4 separate regions of the Homo sapiens genome follow, and regions 1, 2 and 3 are each linked to region 4. The links are contacts of gene promoters, found by promoter capture Hi-C in blood cells and fetal thymus (Javierre and others, 2016). All regions are on one chromosome and are shown on one strand. The core of a region is centred on a gene start or on the middle of the fragment in contact, and the rest is flanking DNA. Distances in the headings are between cores, read along the strand shown. Region 1 overlaps LOC105374928 (a long non-coding RNA gene). Region 2 overlaps TMEM170B (transmembrane protein 170B). Region 3 has its middle 8.1 kb from the start of TMEM170B. Region 4 holds the start of ELOVL2-AS1 (ELOVL2 antisense RNA 1).

Region 1 (3,557 bases), core at 616-3,115, 450 kb before region 4:
TTATTGGCAGCTTTGAGTTGTGCCTGAAGCACAAAAAGGCTAGAGATGCAGGTCTGTCACCTGTGAAAGGGGAGGGAGAAGGAGGGTTAGTTAGGAAGAGTCTCAAACTGCAGTGCTGTCCTGCAAAAGTCTCAGCCAGCCCAACAGAGAGCTCCAGAGCAAAGGCTGCCTGTTGGAGAAGTTCCATGATGAACAGAAAGGGCCAGGCCCTGGCACGCCCACTGTGCTCATTAGCTGTTAAAGGTCTGCCTAGGAAAAGCATGGCCTCAGCTCAACTGCTGTGGCTAAGCAACCAGAGGCACTGCAACCAAGGCCATCACCTAACTGCACCCTCACAGCTAATCTACAAGTTCTTTCTTGAAGGGAGATCATAATAGCTCCATATCCCCATATTGGAGAGAATTCTCACTCTGCATTCTGCCAAGGAGCTGGTGTGTGTGTGCGTTTGTGTGTGTGTGTGTGTGTGTATGCACACATGTGACAAAGGTTTATTTAACTTATCAATGAATGAAGAAGGAGAAGAAAAATTACTATATATAGTCAATGAACAAAAAGAATGCTGGAATAAGACTGCAAGTGAAGTTGAAACTGGTAAATTATAAAACAACACAACTATAATCTGTAGGATTTATATTTCCTACTGGACAGAAATGAATTGCAACATAATGATCCTCCACAAGTTAACATTAACTTTACAAGAGTCTCACCTTCATCAATAGCAAATAATCAAAGTAACTTTCTTCCTGTAAAACTTCCCAACTGGGGGAACATTTGCCCTCTCCTCACCCCAGAGATATCTGACAATGTCTGGAGACATTTGTGGCTATCGCAACTAAAGGGATGAAGGTGTGCTACTGGTGTCTGGTGGGCAGGGGCCAGGGATACTGCTAAATGACCTATTACGCCCTGAACAGCCCCCACGGCAAAGAATTACCCAGACCAAAATTTCAATAGCGCCAAGACTGAGAATCGTGTACAGATGACACTTTTGACAGCTTATTAGGCAATGCTCTAGTATGACACCGAAAGGGCGTAAGAAGATCTTTAATGTTTCCTTCTGCTTTCACTTAAATGTAAAATTGGGATAATGATATATCGAAGCAACTTCATTTACGGTGAAGGATGATTAAATAAAACAATTGTGGTTGATTGTATTTTTACAAAGATGATGCACAAATATATATCCCATCCCACATGCTCTTCTTCTGACGTGACACTGACATTCCTGTATTGAGGGGTGGAGGCTATGTTCCCTTCCCTTGAACCTGGGTAGACGTTTGCAATTACCTCTATCAACAGAACACAGCAGAAGTGACATTTCCTGACCTCTGAGGCTGGATCATAAAAAGCAACACGGCTTCCTCCTGGCTCTCTTTCTGGGGACACCACCTTGGATGTTCTGAGCCAACATGAAACAAGTCTGGCTATGCTTGAGAAACCCTAAAGAGGGACTACATAGAGACAGAGAGAAGCTCCCACCCCAGCCTGTCCAGTCTTATCAGCTCAGACACCAGACACGGGAGCGAATGAGGCTTTACAATAACCCCAAGTACTGTCTGATTGCGATCTCATGTGAAAGAAGCCTCCAGGCAGAACCACCCGACAGAGCTCCTTCTGAATTCCTGGCCCATAGACACCGTGGGAGATAATAAATGATTTTGTTGTCTTAAGCTTCTATATTTTAAGATGATTTGTTCCATAGCAACAGACACTAAAACAACCATACAAAAATAGTCCTTAGCACCCTGCATGGAAAGTGAGTTAACTGGTCACTCTTGTGGGGTAGTTTTAGTATTTTTAAGTAATATTTATGTAGTATTTTTACTGTTTCCGTGCGCAAGAGGGCACACTGTCCGTTGACAGCCCTCATACATGGAGGTGTAATTTTCTAATCAAAGCACCAGGTGGAGCCAACCCCTAATTTTTCACTGTCCCTTTCAGAGGGTGAACTTGACAAAATGGAAAAAAGGCTTCAGAATCAAACTAGCATGTTTAGGGCGATGTGTTAGAGAATGCTCAGTATTCTAAATTCTCAAATTCTAAAACACAAGGAAGCTTATTTTGATGAATAACTCATCCCTAGGCAGGGTGTACGCACAAAAAACAAGAAAATCCTTTTTTTTCCTTTGTTAAATGCAACAGAGAAGGTTATGCTTTCTTTAAACCCTGAAAAGGAAAAGAGATCTGCCAGCCTATGATTTCTAAACAATACTGTACTTAATTTTTGCCATTATCTAGACACATAGCTAATGCAAGTCTCTGTTTGCTGTTTGCTTCTGACAGTAAGACAATATTTCTGAATACTGATTTATGGGACTCAGATAACATCTGTACCACAATTTTAGCTTAAACATTTTTAGGTTTACATGTTTTCTAGTCCTTTATTTTGTATACACGAATTTAATGCTCTAGTGGCTGTGAAAATGGGCCATGATTCCGATTGCAGGAAATCTGGGAACCAAATCCCTTAAAATGAATTGGGTGAACCAAATACATTGTATCTCCCTCTTGTCAGAGAAATTCAAAGCAGACTCTACCCATCAGCATTCACTGTAACCTGAGCAGGTTGGCAACCCGTCCTTATTATGATGATCTGCCAGTGCCTATGTAACTCCTGAAGGCTGATGCCTCTACCCTGAGATGGCTCAAGGATGGTTAGGGCAATAGAGCAGTGGTCTTGAGAATAAAGATGGTTTTGTGATCCGCTTATCTGATTAGAGGTTTATACTATAAAGTCAAGGCTTCATAGCCTGGTAGGGGATAAATCAAATGTCAGAAAGGATGGAGGCAGCTTGAACTCTGAAGAGCTGATTTTCTGAGGGTATCCTACAACTTTGACTCCACCCATACCCTAGCTGACCTGTCATCTTGCTAATTAACCACAAGAACTGAGGGAGAAAGTAAGGTGTGATCAGCTCAAGTAAGGCGTGATCAGCTCAAACCCTATCTATCTTATGCTGGGACTAACACAAAAGAAAGCCAAACACAATTATATGGTAAATCAGTAGAATCATGTTCCTACCTAACGTGTGTCTGTCAGGGATGAGACTGATTCCCATGCTTAACTTATGGCCCTGTCTCATCACTTTGTGCTCATAGAATGTATACGTGACATATTTTTCTTTGACACACTAGTACTGGCAAAGGCTGTCTTCTTTGGCTTAACCACAAATTGTGGAGCATGAGAGCCTCAGAACATCTCCAATCTCTCCCAGCTAGTTTCGGAAATTCCCAGGGACAATTGTGCACATGCTCTCGAGAAGTTCCCCTGGATCCTCAAAACAGCCTTGTGAATCCACAGTAGCTATGGTGACAAGCCTGCTGCAACTCTTTAGAGGGTACTTGGCTGGGTCCCACAGTCACTGATACTGACAGCAGGATTTTCGGGTCACTACTAAGCACTTCCCACAAATGGCCATGACCTCATTCCATGCACTTGGTAGCCTGTCAGTGCAGTGGCTAGAGTGTGATGAGGTAGGCAGGGAGGCAGCCTCTGTCCCTGTGACTATTATCCTCCATTGCTAGGCTGTCTTCTTGGGGCTCATCTCCTTAGGGTC
Region 2 (4,037 bases), core at 1,450-3,949, 500 kb before region 4:
GTATACATATGCCATGTTGGTATGCTGCACCCATTAACTCGTCATTTATGTTAGGTATATCTCCTAATGCTATCCCTCCCCCTTCCCCCCACCCCATGACAGACCCCAGTGTGTGATGTTCTCCACCCTGTGTCCAAGTGTTTTCATTGTTCCAATTCCCACCTATGAGTGAGAGCACGCGATCTTTGGTTTTCTGTCCTTGCGACAGTTTGCTCAGAATGATGGTTTCCAGCTTCATCCATGTCCCTACAAAGGACATGAACTCATCCTTTTTTATGGCTGCATAGTATTCCATGGTGTATATGTGCCACATTTTCTTAATCCAGTCTATCATTGATGGACATGTGGGTTGGTTCCAAGTCTTTGCTATTATGAATAGTGCCACAATAAACATACGTGTGCATGTCTCTTTATAGCAGCATGATTTATAATCCTTTGGATATACACCAGTAATGGGATGGCTGGGTCAAATGGTATTTCTAGTTCTAGATCCCTGAGGAATCGCCACAGTTTTCCACAATGGTTGAACTAGTTTACAGTCCCACCAACAGTGTAAAAGTGTTCCTATTTCTCCACATCCTCTCCAGCACCTGTTGTTTCCTGACTTTTTAATGATCGCCATTCTAACTGGTGTGGGATGGTATCTCATTGTGGTTTTGATTTGCATTTCTCTGATGGCCAGCGATGATGAGCATTTTTTCTTGTGTCTGTTGGCTGCATAAATGTCTTCTTCTGAGAAGTGTCTGTTCATATCCTTTGCCCACTTTTTGATGGGTTTTTTTCTTGTAAATTTGTTTAAGGTCTTTGCAGATTCTAGATATTAGCCCTTTGTCAGATGGGTAGATTGCAAAAATTCTCTCCCATTCTGTAGGTTGCCTGTTCAGTCTGATGGTAGTTTCTTTTGCTGTGCAGAAGCTCTTTAGTTTAATTAGAGATCCCATTTCTCAATTTTGGCTTTTGTTGCCAATTTCCTTCCTTAGTTTCAATTCCTTGTCCCCATCCCTACCTCCTCTCTCTTCTGTTTAGGTTTCTTTTCTACAGAAAACATATCCCTAGAAATTGTGACTCCTCTTCATGAACTATCTTACTTTCTTAGACCTTCCTTTCAAACACTAAACAAAGATAAATACATTTTATTATCATAGTTAATATTAAAGAATCAAAATTATAACTCAAGCAGTCCCAAGACATATCCAGAAAATGGTTCAGATCGAAGAAATGTCATCTGGACCTTGGACTTGGTATTGCTAGAGGATATGAATTTATGATTCAAAAATAATGAGACAGAAATTAAGAAAATAAAAACTTAATGACAAATGGTAAAAACAAAAAAAAATCCCTAATGACAATTTCGGTTTTTAAAAATTATAGCATTTTCATTCTCAATAAGATATACAGGTAAGCCTCCTAAGAAGTTAAATCCTATGAAGGCCATATCATACTGGCACTTATTAATTGACTCTGTACCTATCAAGGGTAAGGACTTTTCACATTTTTTAAAAAAGTAAAATGGAGGTCTGACACAAATACTGAAAAGTAGCATATATCTTTAGGGCACATTTACAAAACATAAATAACTCTAAGTAGACATTTGAAGTAATTTTTTCTACTTAAGCTCACCTCCTATAATACAGCATTTAGGAAGAGGAACTTAACCTAATGGTAAGCTAGAATACAGAGTAACCCCAAGAGAAGCATGCCTTCTTGGGAACGCTATTGAAGGAAGGTGCTGACTATACCAGTATGAATGTGAACAATTCCAAATATATATACTAAATATTCACTTTCTTTTATTTTTTCTTTGACTGACACTAAATATTGAAACAAAAATGGCTTAGCAACTATAATGCCTAAAAGGGAACTATGATGTAGTATGTATATGTGCATGTGTATACATATCCTAAATATACATATATACAATACTCTTCGTTTATCTGCAGTTTCACTTTCTGCAATTACAGTTACCCACTATCGAATATTGTCTGAACATAGATAAGTATAGTACAATACAATATTTTGAGAGCGAGAGACCGCATTCATATAACTTTTACTACAGTATTTGTTGTTGTTAATCTCTGACTGTGCCTAAGTTCTAAGTTAAACTTTATCACAGGTATGCATGTGTAGGAAAAAACATAGTACAGGCATGTGTTGCCTAATGACGGGGATACATTCTGAGAAATGTGTCATTTGGCCATTTCATTATTGTGCAAATATTATACAGTGTACCTACACAAACCTAGATGGTATAAGCTAACATATATTCCATTTAGGCTATATGGTATAGCCTATTGCTCCTAGGCAACAAACCTGTATAGCATGTTACTTTACTCAATACTGCAGGCAATTGTAACACAATGGGAAGTATTTGTGTCTCTAAACATAAAAAAGTTCAGTAAAAATATAGCATAAAAGATTAAAAAATGAATATCTGTATGGGGAAGTTATCATGAATAGAGCTTGCAGGCCTGGAAGTTGCTCCAGGTGAAACTGTGAGTGAATGTGAAGGCCTCAGACATTACTGTACACTGCTGTAGACTTTATAAACACTATACACAGGCTACACTAAATTTATTTTTAAAATATTTTTTGTTCTGCAATAATTAACCTTAGCTTACTGTAACTTTTTTACTTTATAAACTTTTAAGTTTTAACTTTTTAACTATTTTCTAATAACATTTAGCTTAAAACACAAATACATTGTACAGCTGTATGAAAAATACTTTATATTCTTAATTTTATAAACTTTTTCTACTTCTAAAATTAAAAAAAAATTGTTAAAAACTAAGACCCAAACATACATATTAGCCTAGGCCTACACAGGGTCAGGATCATCAATATCACTGTCTTCCACCTCCACACTTTGTCCCATGGAAAGTCTTCAGGGGCAATGACAGGCAGGGAGCTGGCATCTCCTAAGGTAACAACGTCTTCTTCTGGAATGGCTCCTGAAGGATCTGCCTGAGGCTGTTTTACAGCTTGCCTTTTTTTTTTTTTTTTTTTTTTTAAAGACGGAGTCTCGCTCTGTTGCCCAAGCTGGAGTGCACTGGTGCAATCTCGGCTCACTGCAAGCTCTGCCTCCCAGGTTCATGCCATTCTCCTGCCTCAGCCTCCCAAGTAGCTGGGACTATAGGCGCCCGCCACCACGCCCGGCTAATTTTTTGTATTTTTTTTTTAGTAGACACAGGGTTTCACCATGTTAGCCAGGATGGTCTCGATCTCCTGACCTCGTGATCCACCTGCCTCGGCCTCCCAAAGTGCTGGGATTCAGCTTTTTTTTTTAAACAAGTAGGGGTACATTCTAAAATAATGATAAAAAATCTAGTACAGTAAATACATAAGCCAGTAACACAGTTGTTATCAAGTATTATGTACTGTACATAACTATATATGCTCTACTTTTATACAACAGGCAGTACAGTAGGTCTGTTGACACCAGCATCACCATAAACACGTGAGTAACGTGTTGCGCTATGACATTAGGACGGCCATGATCTCAGTAGGTGACAGAATTTTTTTAGCTCCATTATAATCTTATGGGACCATCATCACATGAGGTCCTTCTTTGACTGGAAAGTTACATGGCACATGACTGTATATATGGGGTTCAGAAATATCCATGGTTTCAGGCACCCACTGGGGGTTTTGGAACATATTGCCTTTGAATAAACGGGACTACTACTACTACTACTACTTACTACTAGTACTACACACACACACACACACACACACACACACAGAGAGAGAGAGAGAGAAGCCTTTTAACCTTCATTCCAGGTTGAATTCCCAGCCTCCCAATGCTTATTACCAATAAAAAGAAGGGAACACCTGCCCCTACATTTGCTGCTGACACAGAGAGACCAGCCTGAAGCAGCCCTCATCTTTTTCCCAGGGACCAATTATCCCTTTCCTAACACCAGCCAAGTTTTGCATTTATACTGGGATTTACAGACCCTGCCCTTTTCTAAATAAAAATTCTTCTCTAAACTCTTAGCAACCAAATTTGGGTCAGAACACTAAGATGGAAGCCAAAATAG
Region 3 (3,711 bases), core at 1,128-3,627, 490 kb before region 4:
CATGCCTGGCATATCAAAACCTCTTTTAACTGTTGCTCCATACTCTTTTTACTTTTCTGATTCATTGGGATGGTGACACTCCAGTATTTTTGAAAGTCACATGTCAAAGATGTCAAAGCCAGTATCAGCCTGGCTTCTTGAAAGAGTGCATAGAACAGGACAGAGAGCCCCCCAGCTGATCTGGAATCCCCTTTGAACTTCCTTGGTATAGAGTTTATAAAAGAAAATAAAATTTTAGGACCCTCTGAATTTATTATGCCAACAGGGAAGGTAAGCCCTGGAGACTGAGTCACGTCATATGTTTGGAATTCTGCTTCTTACATTATAGCTTAACTGTCTTCCTCACTGTTCTTGTTCTGTAAATGAGTAAGACAGATCAGAGCCCAGATCTTTCCTTCCAATCACTGATCTTTGTTATAGATTAGCTGCCTCCTTTGTCCTGTATCTAACTCAGACTAGATGGTGCTCAGGACCCCATAACAGTTACGTCTTCCATGTGGAATGTTAAATGTACCTTTCTCAAGGGAAAAAGACCACCTTAGCTAATCAGATCATTGTAACGAGGCATTAAAGCTTAGATAAGTCCTACACTTTGGAACACTGGCTTCCATTCTTTGGAATCTGTACTTCCTAGGTGGGCCATCCCCCCATTGCACTTGAACACACTCTCCTTAAACTAGATTTTGACCATTTTGATTATTTTAGGTTAGCAACCTGTTGTAATTTGGGACTTTTCCTTCAGTGGTTGAGCTTCCCTAATTAGTATTCCAATACTGCTCTGACAAGAATGCATTCTTTTGTATTCCAGGTTTCCAGTGATTCTATTTTCTAGAAGTCAACTGGTAAATTCAGCTTACTAATCAAAGCTAGATGATCCAAATTTTCTGTAGACACAAACAATTTGAGTATATCTTGTCTACCCACAAAATCCTGCCACCTTGCAGCAGGCAAAGGCTGTTTCCTAGAGAATTCATCCAGACCACCTTTCTTCACTTATTATGACTTTCTAAGTTTTCATATAACGTACAGAATAAATGTTACCCCATCACTCTTCTCCATATTAAAGTTCTGTCCAATTGGGTACCTAACCCAATCCATCATAAATTGAATTCAACTAGAAATATTAGTTGCATTAAAAAAATTGAAACTCTGAAAGTAAATTTTTCCAATGGTCTTTTTTCTTTCTTTTTTAAAATTATTTTTTAATTTTTTAATTATGGGTACATAATATTACAATTATTTTAAAATTAATTTTTAAGTTTTTAATTATGGGTACGTAATAATTCCATTTATGGTGTACATGTGAGTTTTGATACAGGCATACCATTTATAATGACCAAATCAGGGTAACTGGGATCTCCTTCATCTTAAGAATTCATTATTTCTTTGTGTTAGGAACATTCCAATACCGCTCTTTCAGTTATTTTAAAACATACATTTTTTTAAACTATGGTCACCCTATTGTGCTACAGAATACTAGCTCTTACTCATTTGATCAAACTATAATTTTTGTGCCCATTAACCATTCATTATCTTTTTTTTTTTTTTTGAGACGTAGTTTCACTCTTGTCACCCAGGCTAGAGTGCAGTGGTGTGACCTTGGCTCACTGCAACCTCCGCCTCCCGGGTTCAAGTGATTCTCCTGCCCCAGCCTCCCAAGTAGCTGAGATTACAGGCGTGCACCACCACACCCAGCTAATTTTTGTATTTTTAGTAGAGACGAGGTTTCACCGTGTTGGCCACGCTGGTCTCTAACTCCTGACCTCAAATGATCTGCCCGTCTTGGCCTCCTAAAGTGCCGGAATTACAGGCTTAAGCCACCGGGCCTGGCCTGGTAACCATCATTCTAATCTTTATCTCTGTGCATTTAATTATCTACTTTTTAGCTCCCACATATGAGTGAGAACATATGACATTTGTCTTCTGTGCCTGGCTTATTTCACTTCACGTAATGTCCTCCAGTTCCATCCTAGTTGTTACAAGTGACAAGATTTGATTCTTTTTTATGGCTGAATAATATTACATTGGGTATATGCATCACATTTTCTTTATCCATTCATCCATTGATGGACCCTTAGGTTGATTCCATATCTTGGCCATTATGAATAGTGTTGCAACAAACATGGGAGTGCAGATATCTTCTCAATGTACTAATTTTCATTCCTTTGGAAATACACCAAGCAGTGGGATTGCTGGATCATATGGTAATTCTATTTTTAGTTTTTTGAGGAAACTTAATGCTACTCTCCACAGTGGCTGTACTAATTTACTTTCCCACCAACAGTGTACGAGTGTTCCCCTTTTTCCACATCCTCCCCCATCGTTCATTATTGCCTGTCTTTTGGGTAAAAGCCATTTTAACTGGTGTGAGATGATATCTCATTGTAGTTTTGGTTTGCATGTAACTGATGATTAGTGATGTTGAACATTTTTTCACATACCTGTTGCCCATTTGTATGTCTTCTTTTGAGGAATGTCTATTCAGATCTTCTGCCCATTTTAAAATCAGATTTTTAGACTTGTTTCTTATTGAATTGATTGAGCTCCTTATAAATTGTGCTTATTAATTCCTTGCCAGATGAACAGTTTGCACACATTTCTCCCATTTTGTGGACTGTATCTTAACTTTGTTGATAGTTTCCTTTGCTGTGCAGCTTTTTAGCATGATGGGATTCCAGTTGTCCATTTTTGCTTTGGTTGCCAGTGTTTTTTGAGGTATCACTCAAGAAATCTGTGCCCCGACCAATGTCTTAGAACATTTCCCTGATGTTTTCTTTTAGTAGTTTCATAGTTTGAGGTCTTAGTTAAATTTAAGTCTTCAATCTATTTTGATTTGATTTTTGTATGTGATGAGAGATAAGGGTCTAGTTTCATTCTTTTGCATATGGATATCCAGTTTTCCCAGTGCCATTTATTGAAGAGACTTTCCTTCCCCCAATGTATGTTTTTGGCACCTTTGTCAAAAATGAGTTCACTCTAAATGCAGGGATTGATTTCTGGGTTCTGTATTCTATTCCATTGGTCTATGTGTCAGTATTTATGCCAGTACCAGGCTGTTTGGGTTACAATAGCTTTGTAGTATTAATATAATTTGAAATCAGGTAATGTGATTTCTCCAGTTGTGTTCTTTTTGCTCAGGAGAGCTTTGTCTATTCAAGGTTTTTTGTGGTTCCATATAAATTTTAGGGGTTTTTTTCTATTTCTGTGATGAATATCTAATGTTCATTTTTTATGCCTTCTTAGATAACTTTTTCAAGCTCATATTGTAAATATCTGGGTTAATTGGGAAACTAATGACAATATCTGGCCTATTGTAAAAGTATGAGATTGAACACAAATTTATAATTTTTATCACTTTCATTTCATTATACTAATTATAAGTGTTAAGAAATAGAAGATTTTTTTTCTACCCTCAAAGACCTTAGCATCTATTTAAGGGAGAATAAAACATACATTAGAAACAATAAATAGGTAACAAACTGTTACTGAGAACACATGTATATATATATATATATATATTCTATGTGTTATATAATATTAATAAATATATTTGCATTCTATAATCCATATCACATTATAATTACACATATTATATGCAATATATATAATACATATGTATTATGTTTTATTTGTATAATGTATATAGTCACCCATCACTTAACAATGAGGATTCTTTCTGGGAAATGCATCATTAGTCAATTTTGTCATTGT
Region 4 (3,866 bases), core at 1,002-3,501:
CACTTTCTGATTCTCAAATGCATCAAATTGATAACAAATCAATAACTAGTACTTTTGTACCAGATATTTTTCTAGAGTTTTACCCATATTAATTTAACCCTAACAGCTACATGTAATGTTAAGTGCTATTTTATCCCAAATTCGTAAATCAGGAAACTGGAGCATAGACAGTTTAGGTAACCAACCCAATACCACACACCCAGTATGTGGCAGAGCTGACTCCTGAGATTTTTATCAGACTAGGTTAACCTGTTTATGGTCATAAAATCATCCGCCTTTTATAAACAAATATATGCCTAATATTTACCACTTCAGCTACAGAAATTCTATATTAGGAAGAAAAACTCTCTATTAGGAAACTATATATTAGGTGATTGTATGACAGTTAAGATTTAGCCCCGGTACCTACAGTTACTCACTCTGCTACTGCACAAAACTCTGCAAGGGCTCCCACACCGCCCCAGGTGTGGGATGCTAAGTGTATGGTGCAGGTACCTCCGTGCACAGCCACACGGGCTGCTCTCAACCCCAATAAACATGTTTACCACATGAGCCTCACATGTGGTAAACATTTTTTTTTTTTTTTTTTTTTTTTGAGACAGGGTCTCATTCTGTCGCCCAGGCTGGAGTGCAGTGGCGTGATCTCGGCTCACTGCAGCCTCCACCTCCAGGGCTCAAGCCATCCTTCACCTCAGCCTCCCGAGTGGCTGGGATCACAGGCGCAGGCCACCACACCCAGCTAATTTTTGTATTTTTTATTTAAGAGGCGGGGTTTCGCCATGTTGCCCAGGCTGGTCCCGAACTCCTGACCTCAAGTGATTCGCCTGCCTCAGCCTCCCAAAGTGCTGGGATTACAGGAGGGAACCACCACGCCCGCCAACTTCCCATGCTTGAGGGAGAAATGGAAGAAAGTTCATGTAATACTCAGGCAAGTCCAATTTTTTCGACGTCTTTCACTTGGGCCACACACACAACTAAAGTAACTAGAAGCGCAGGCTCTAGGAGGCCACCGTTCTGTTCACAGTGAAGAGGGTGCGCTCACCGTTGGTCGTGTCCGCTGGAAGCCCCGCGTCAGGCCGGGAGCGGGACAGAGACTCTTGCTCAGGGCCGTTATCCGAACTGATCCGCTTCCCACCGCACCCCCAGAGAAACCCACCCAACCCCCTAAACCTAAGAAACCCAGACTGCGCAAACCTGCAGGAACAGAGCCATTTCCCCCTAATGTGTGCTTCAAACCCACCGAAGCCCAACTGTAAGCAAGACCAGCGTGCCCGCCCTGCACGATACTGCTTCTCCCCGCAGCAGCGGCTGCCGATCTGGGCAGCGGGTGGGTATTCCTGGGGCTCCGTGGACGTTGAGCCGCCGCGCGAAACCGGCGCCGGCTGGACCTGCAAATCGCCGCCCGGCCGGCAGGGGACGCCGCGGACGCGAGGGCGAGGTCGGTCGCCCAGGAGGGGGCGCGCGAGGCCGCAGGGGCGGGGGGCGCCGCCTCACTTGCCCTGCGCCCCTCCCCCGCGCGCCCTCCTGGCGCGGCGGCCGGCGAGGCCCCTGTGGGAGAGGGGGCGGGGACGAAACGGCCCCGAGGCTCGGAGCGCCGCGCGGCGGCGGCGCGAGCCCGAGGGGGCGGGGAGGCGCGGGCGGGTGTGCGCGCGCCGGGCGTGGGTGTGGGTGGGGGTAACCGGCGCGGGCGCCGAGATAGCGCCGGGCAGAGGGACCCGGCTACCCTGGACAGCGCATCGCCGCCCGCCCGGGTCGCCGCGCCACAGCCGCTGCGGATCATGGTGAGTGGGGCCGCGCGCCGCCACCGACACCGCCGCGCTTTCTTTCTCTCCTGGACCCACGCACCGGGCGGGAAAGGGCCGAGCGGGCGCCGGCGCGGGCGCTGCGGGTTCGCCGCTGGAACCCGCTACCCTCGGAGGGGCCGGGTCCGCGCGGGCCTGGGGAGCGGGAGCTGAGCGTTTGGGCCGGGGGCGCGCGGGTCGGCCCGAGGCCCGCGGGTCTCGGGAACTTTGTCTCGGTCCCCTCTCCCCGGTCCCGCCCCGGCACCTCGAGGCGCCCGCTCGCGCCCAGTCCCCTGTTGCATGCACGGGGCCGGGCGCCCGGGATGCCCGAGGAAGCCGCCCCTCCTTCGCGGCGGCCATTCCCGCGCGCAGCCCACCCTCCGACCCTCCGGACCCCCGAACCTGCTCTCGCCACCGCCCGCCGACGCCTGGAGCGGAGAACGGCGTTTCCCGCGCGCGGCACACACCCTGCCTCGGGAGTTCTGGGGTTCGGGCCCTAACGGTCAAGCTCTTGCCCCTCTCCTCCCTTCACCGCGCCTGCACCCCGGGGGTGTGTCTGTGCACTCGTGGGTGCCTCCTGGGTTTGCAGATTGGCTTGGGAAGCGGCTGGGTTTCTATCAGTGTCTGGGCTCGGAGGGGCTTCTGGTGTGTTCTTTCCGACAACTCCTCTCTCTGCCCGATTTCCCAGGCCAGTCCTCCACTCTGGATTAGTAACGCTTCTTTCTCCTCGGCAGTAAGCTGTGTGTGTGTGTGTGTGTGTTCACCCGTGTCCGATGAACTGCCTGACAGTAAGCTGTGTGTGTGTGTGTGTGTGTGTGTGTGTTCACCCGTGTCCGATGAACTGCCTGACAGTTTTAGTAGCAGAGCCTGGTTCTTTGGTTACAAAGGGAGAACATCTGTTGTGCCATCCTCAAAGGACTGGTCTTTAGGCAAAATGTGAAATCCGCGTTTGTCTTCAGTGGTCCATATTCAGTGTTTGCCTCACCCCCTTCCCGTAGGGTTTTCTCTCCACTTCAGGACTTGTTAAAATAAGCGCACTTCCTTTCTCTTCCCCACTCCATCTGATTTTGCTCTGGCTACCCTTTTAGGCACGTACCATCTGCCTGATTATGTGTGACCACTTAATCTTAAAATTCCAACCTTTCCTACCCCGCCCACCACAGTGTATATTCCCCTTGCCTGCTTCATTTGTCTTCTCTTGAGCATGTATTAGTTAGCGTACTGCATATTTTGTTTCTTTAGCTTGTTTCTTGAACGTCTCCTCTACCAGAATATAGGTTTCAGGAAGACACAGATTTTTGTCATTTCGTTCATTGCTTGCTAGATTTCTAGTACCTACAGCAGTGCCTGGCGCACAGTAGGTACTTGATAACTCTTTTGAATTAACCCAATAAAGCAAGCTGCTTTATGTTAATGCACAGGTGGGGAGTAACTGCAAAGATTATGCAGTTGACATTTGTAATGATGAGAGTCTCAAGTGAAGTTTGGGAGGAGGGAGATACTCCCGACAGGAGGGACCCGATTTTGGCAGCCTTCAATGACGAGTCTAGGCGGCTATCTCTTATGCCTTGTCTGTCGCTTCATGCTCTTTGCACCTTGGCATCAGAGTGGACAAAGCATTTTTAGGACCAACTGGCTCTCCTTTTGGGCTCTGAAGCTTTGTCCTAAAGTATAGGTAGGAATTGTAGTGAGTAAGGGAATAAGTCCAAGGAAATCTCTTTAGCTGAATAGGAAAGTCATGGGAATGTTAACCTAAAAGAGCTAAAATCAAGGGCAAGCTCTTGAAAGCTTTATCCTGCCCAAGTGTGATGCTTCCTGTTTAGATAAGTATTTCTCAGAAACTGTGGGTCTTCAGAGGAATTTTTTTTTAATACCCAAATCCAAATTGTATTACTTTTTTCTTCTTTCTTTTTTTGTGGCAGGGTCTCACTCTGTCACCCAGGCTGGCATGCAGTGATGCAATCTTGGCTCACTGCAACCTCCACCTCCTGGGCTCAAGTGATTCTCGTGCCTCAGCCTCCTGAGTAGCTGGGATTACAGGCGCACGTCACCACACCAGGCCAATCTGTGTATTTTTGGTAGAGA

What was found. Contacts are between HindIII fragments. The CHiCAGO score rates a contact against its expected background, and 5 or more counts as called.
Region 1: a contact is called between a fragment that was not itself captured here and the fragment with the promoter of ELOVL2-AS1 in region 4, in 8 of 17 cell types (fetal thymus, M1 macrophages, megakaryocytes and 5 more). The highest score is 13.1, in fetal thymus.
Region 2: a fragment that was not itself captured here is called in contact with the fragment with the promoter of ELOVL2-AS1 in region 4 in 2 of 17 cell types (endothelial precursors and fetal thymus); the score reaches 7.5 in endothelial precursors.
Region 3: a contact is called between a fragment that was not itself captured here and the fragment with the promoter of ELOVL2-AS1 in region 4, in 3 of 17 cell types (endothelial precursors, fetal thymus and activated CD4 T cells). The highest score is 7.6, in endothelial precursors.

The regions. Positions count from the first base shown.
Region 1 is chr6:11,494,732-11,498,288 of GRCh38, reverse strand. All of the region lies in intron 3 of LOC105374928 (a long non-coding RNA gene), which reads right to left. Among named protein-coding and RNA genes, the nearest start is that of TMEM170B, 41 kb to the left of the region's middle. The HindIII fragment of the contact is 384 bases long and covers 1,674-2,057 here.
Region 2 is chr6:11,544,983-11,549,019 of GRCh38, reverse strand. All of the region lies in intron 1 of TMEM170B (transmembrane protein 170B), which reads right to left. Among named protein-coding and RNA genes, the nearest start is that of TMEM170B, 9.3 kb to the right of the region's middle. The HindIII fragment of the contact is 9,162 bases long and covers 1-4,037 here.
Region 3 is chr6:11,527,764-11,531,474 of GRCh38, reverse strand. No RefSeq gene overlaps it. Among named protein-coding and RNA genes, the nearest start is that of TMEM170B, 8.1 kb to the left of the region's middle. The HindIII fragment of the contact is 3,603 bases long and covers 576-3,711 here.
Region 4 is chr6:11,042,143-11,046,008 of GRCh38, reverse strand. ELOVL2-AS1 (ELOVL2 antisense RNA 1) reads right to left here and starts at 2,251. Exons shown (of 5, transcript NR_038964.1): 1 at 2,184-2,251. ELOVL2 (ELOVL fatty acid elongase 2) reads left to right here and starts at 1,704. Exons shown (of 8, transcript NM_017770.4): 1 at 1,704-1,781. The coding sequence starts at 1,779. RefSeq lists enhancers at 173-673, 674-1,174 and a silencer at 1,609-1,808. The HindIII fragment of the contact is 4,245 bases long and covers 1-3,440 here.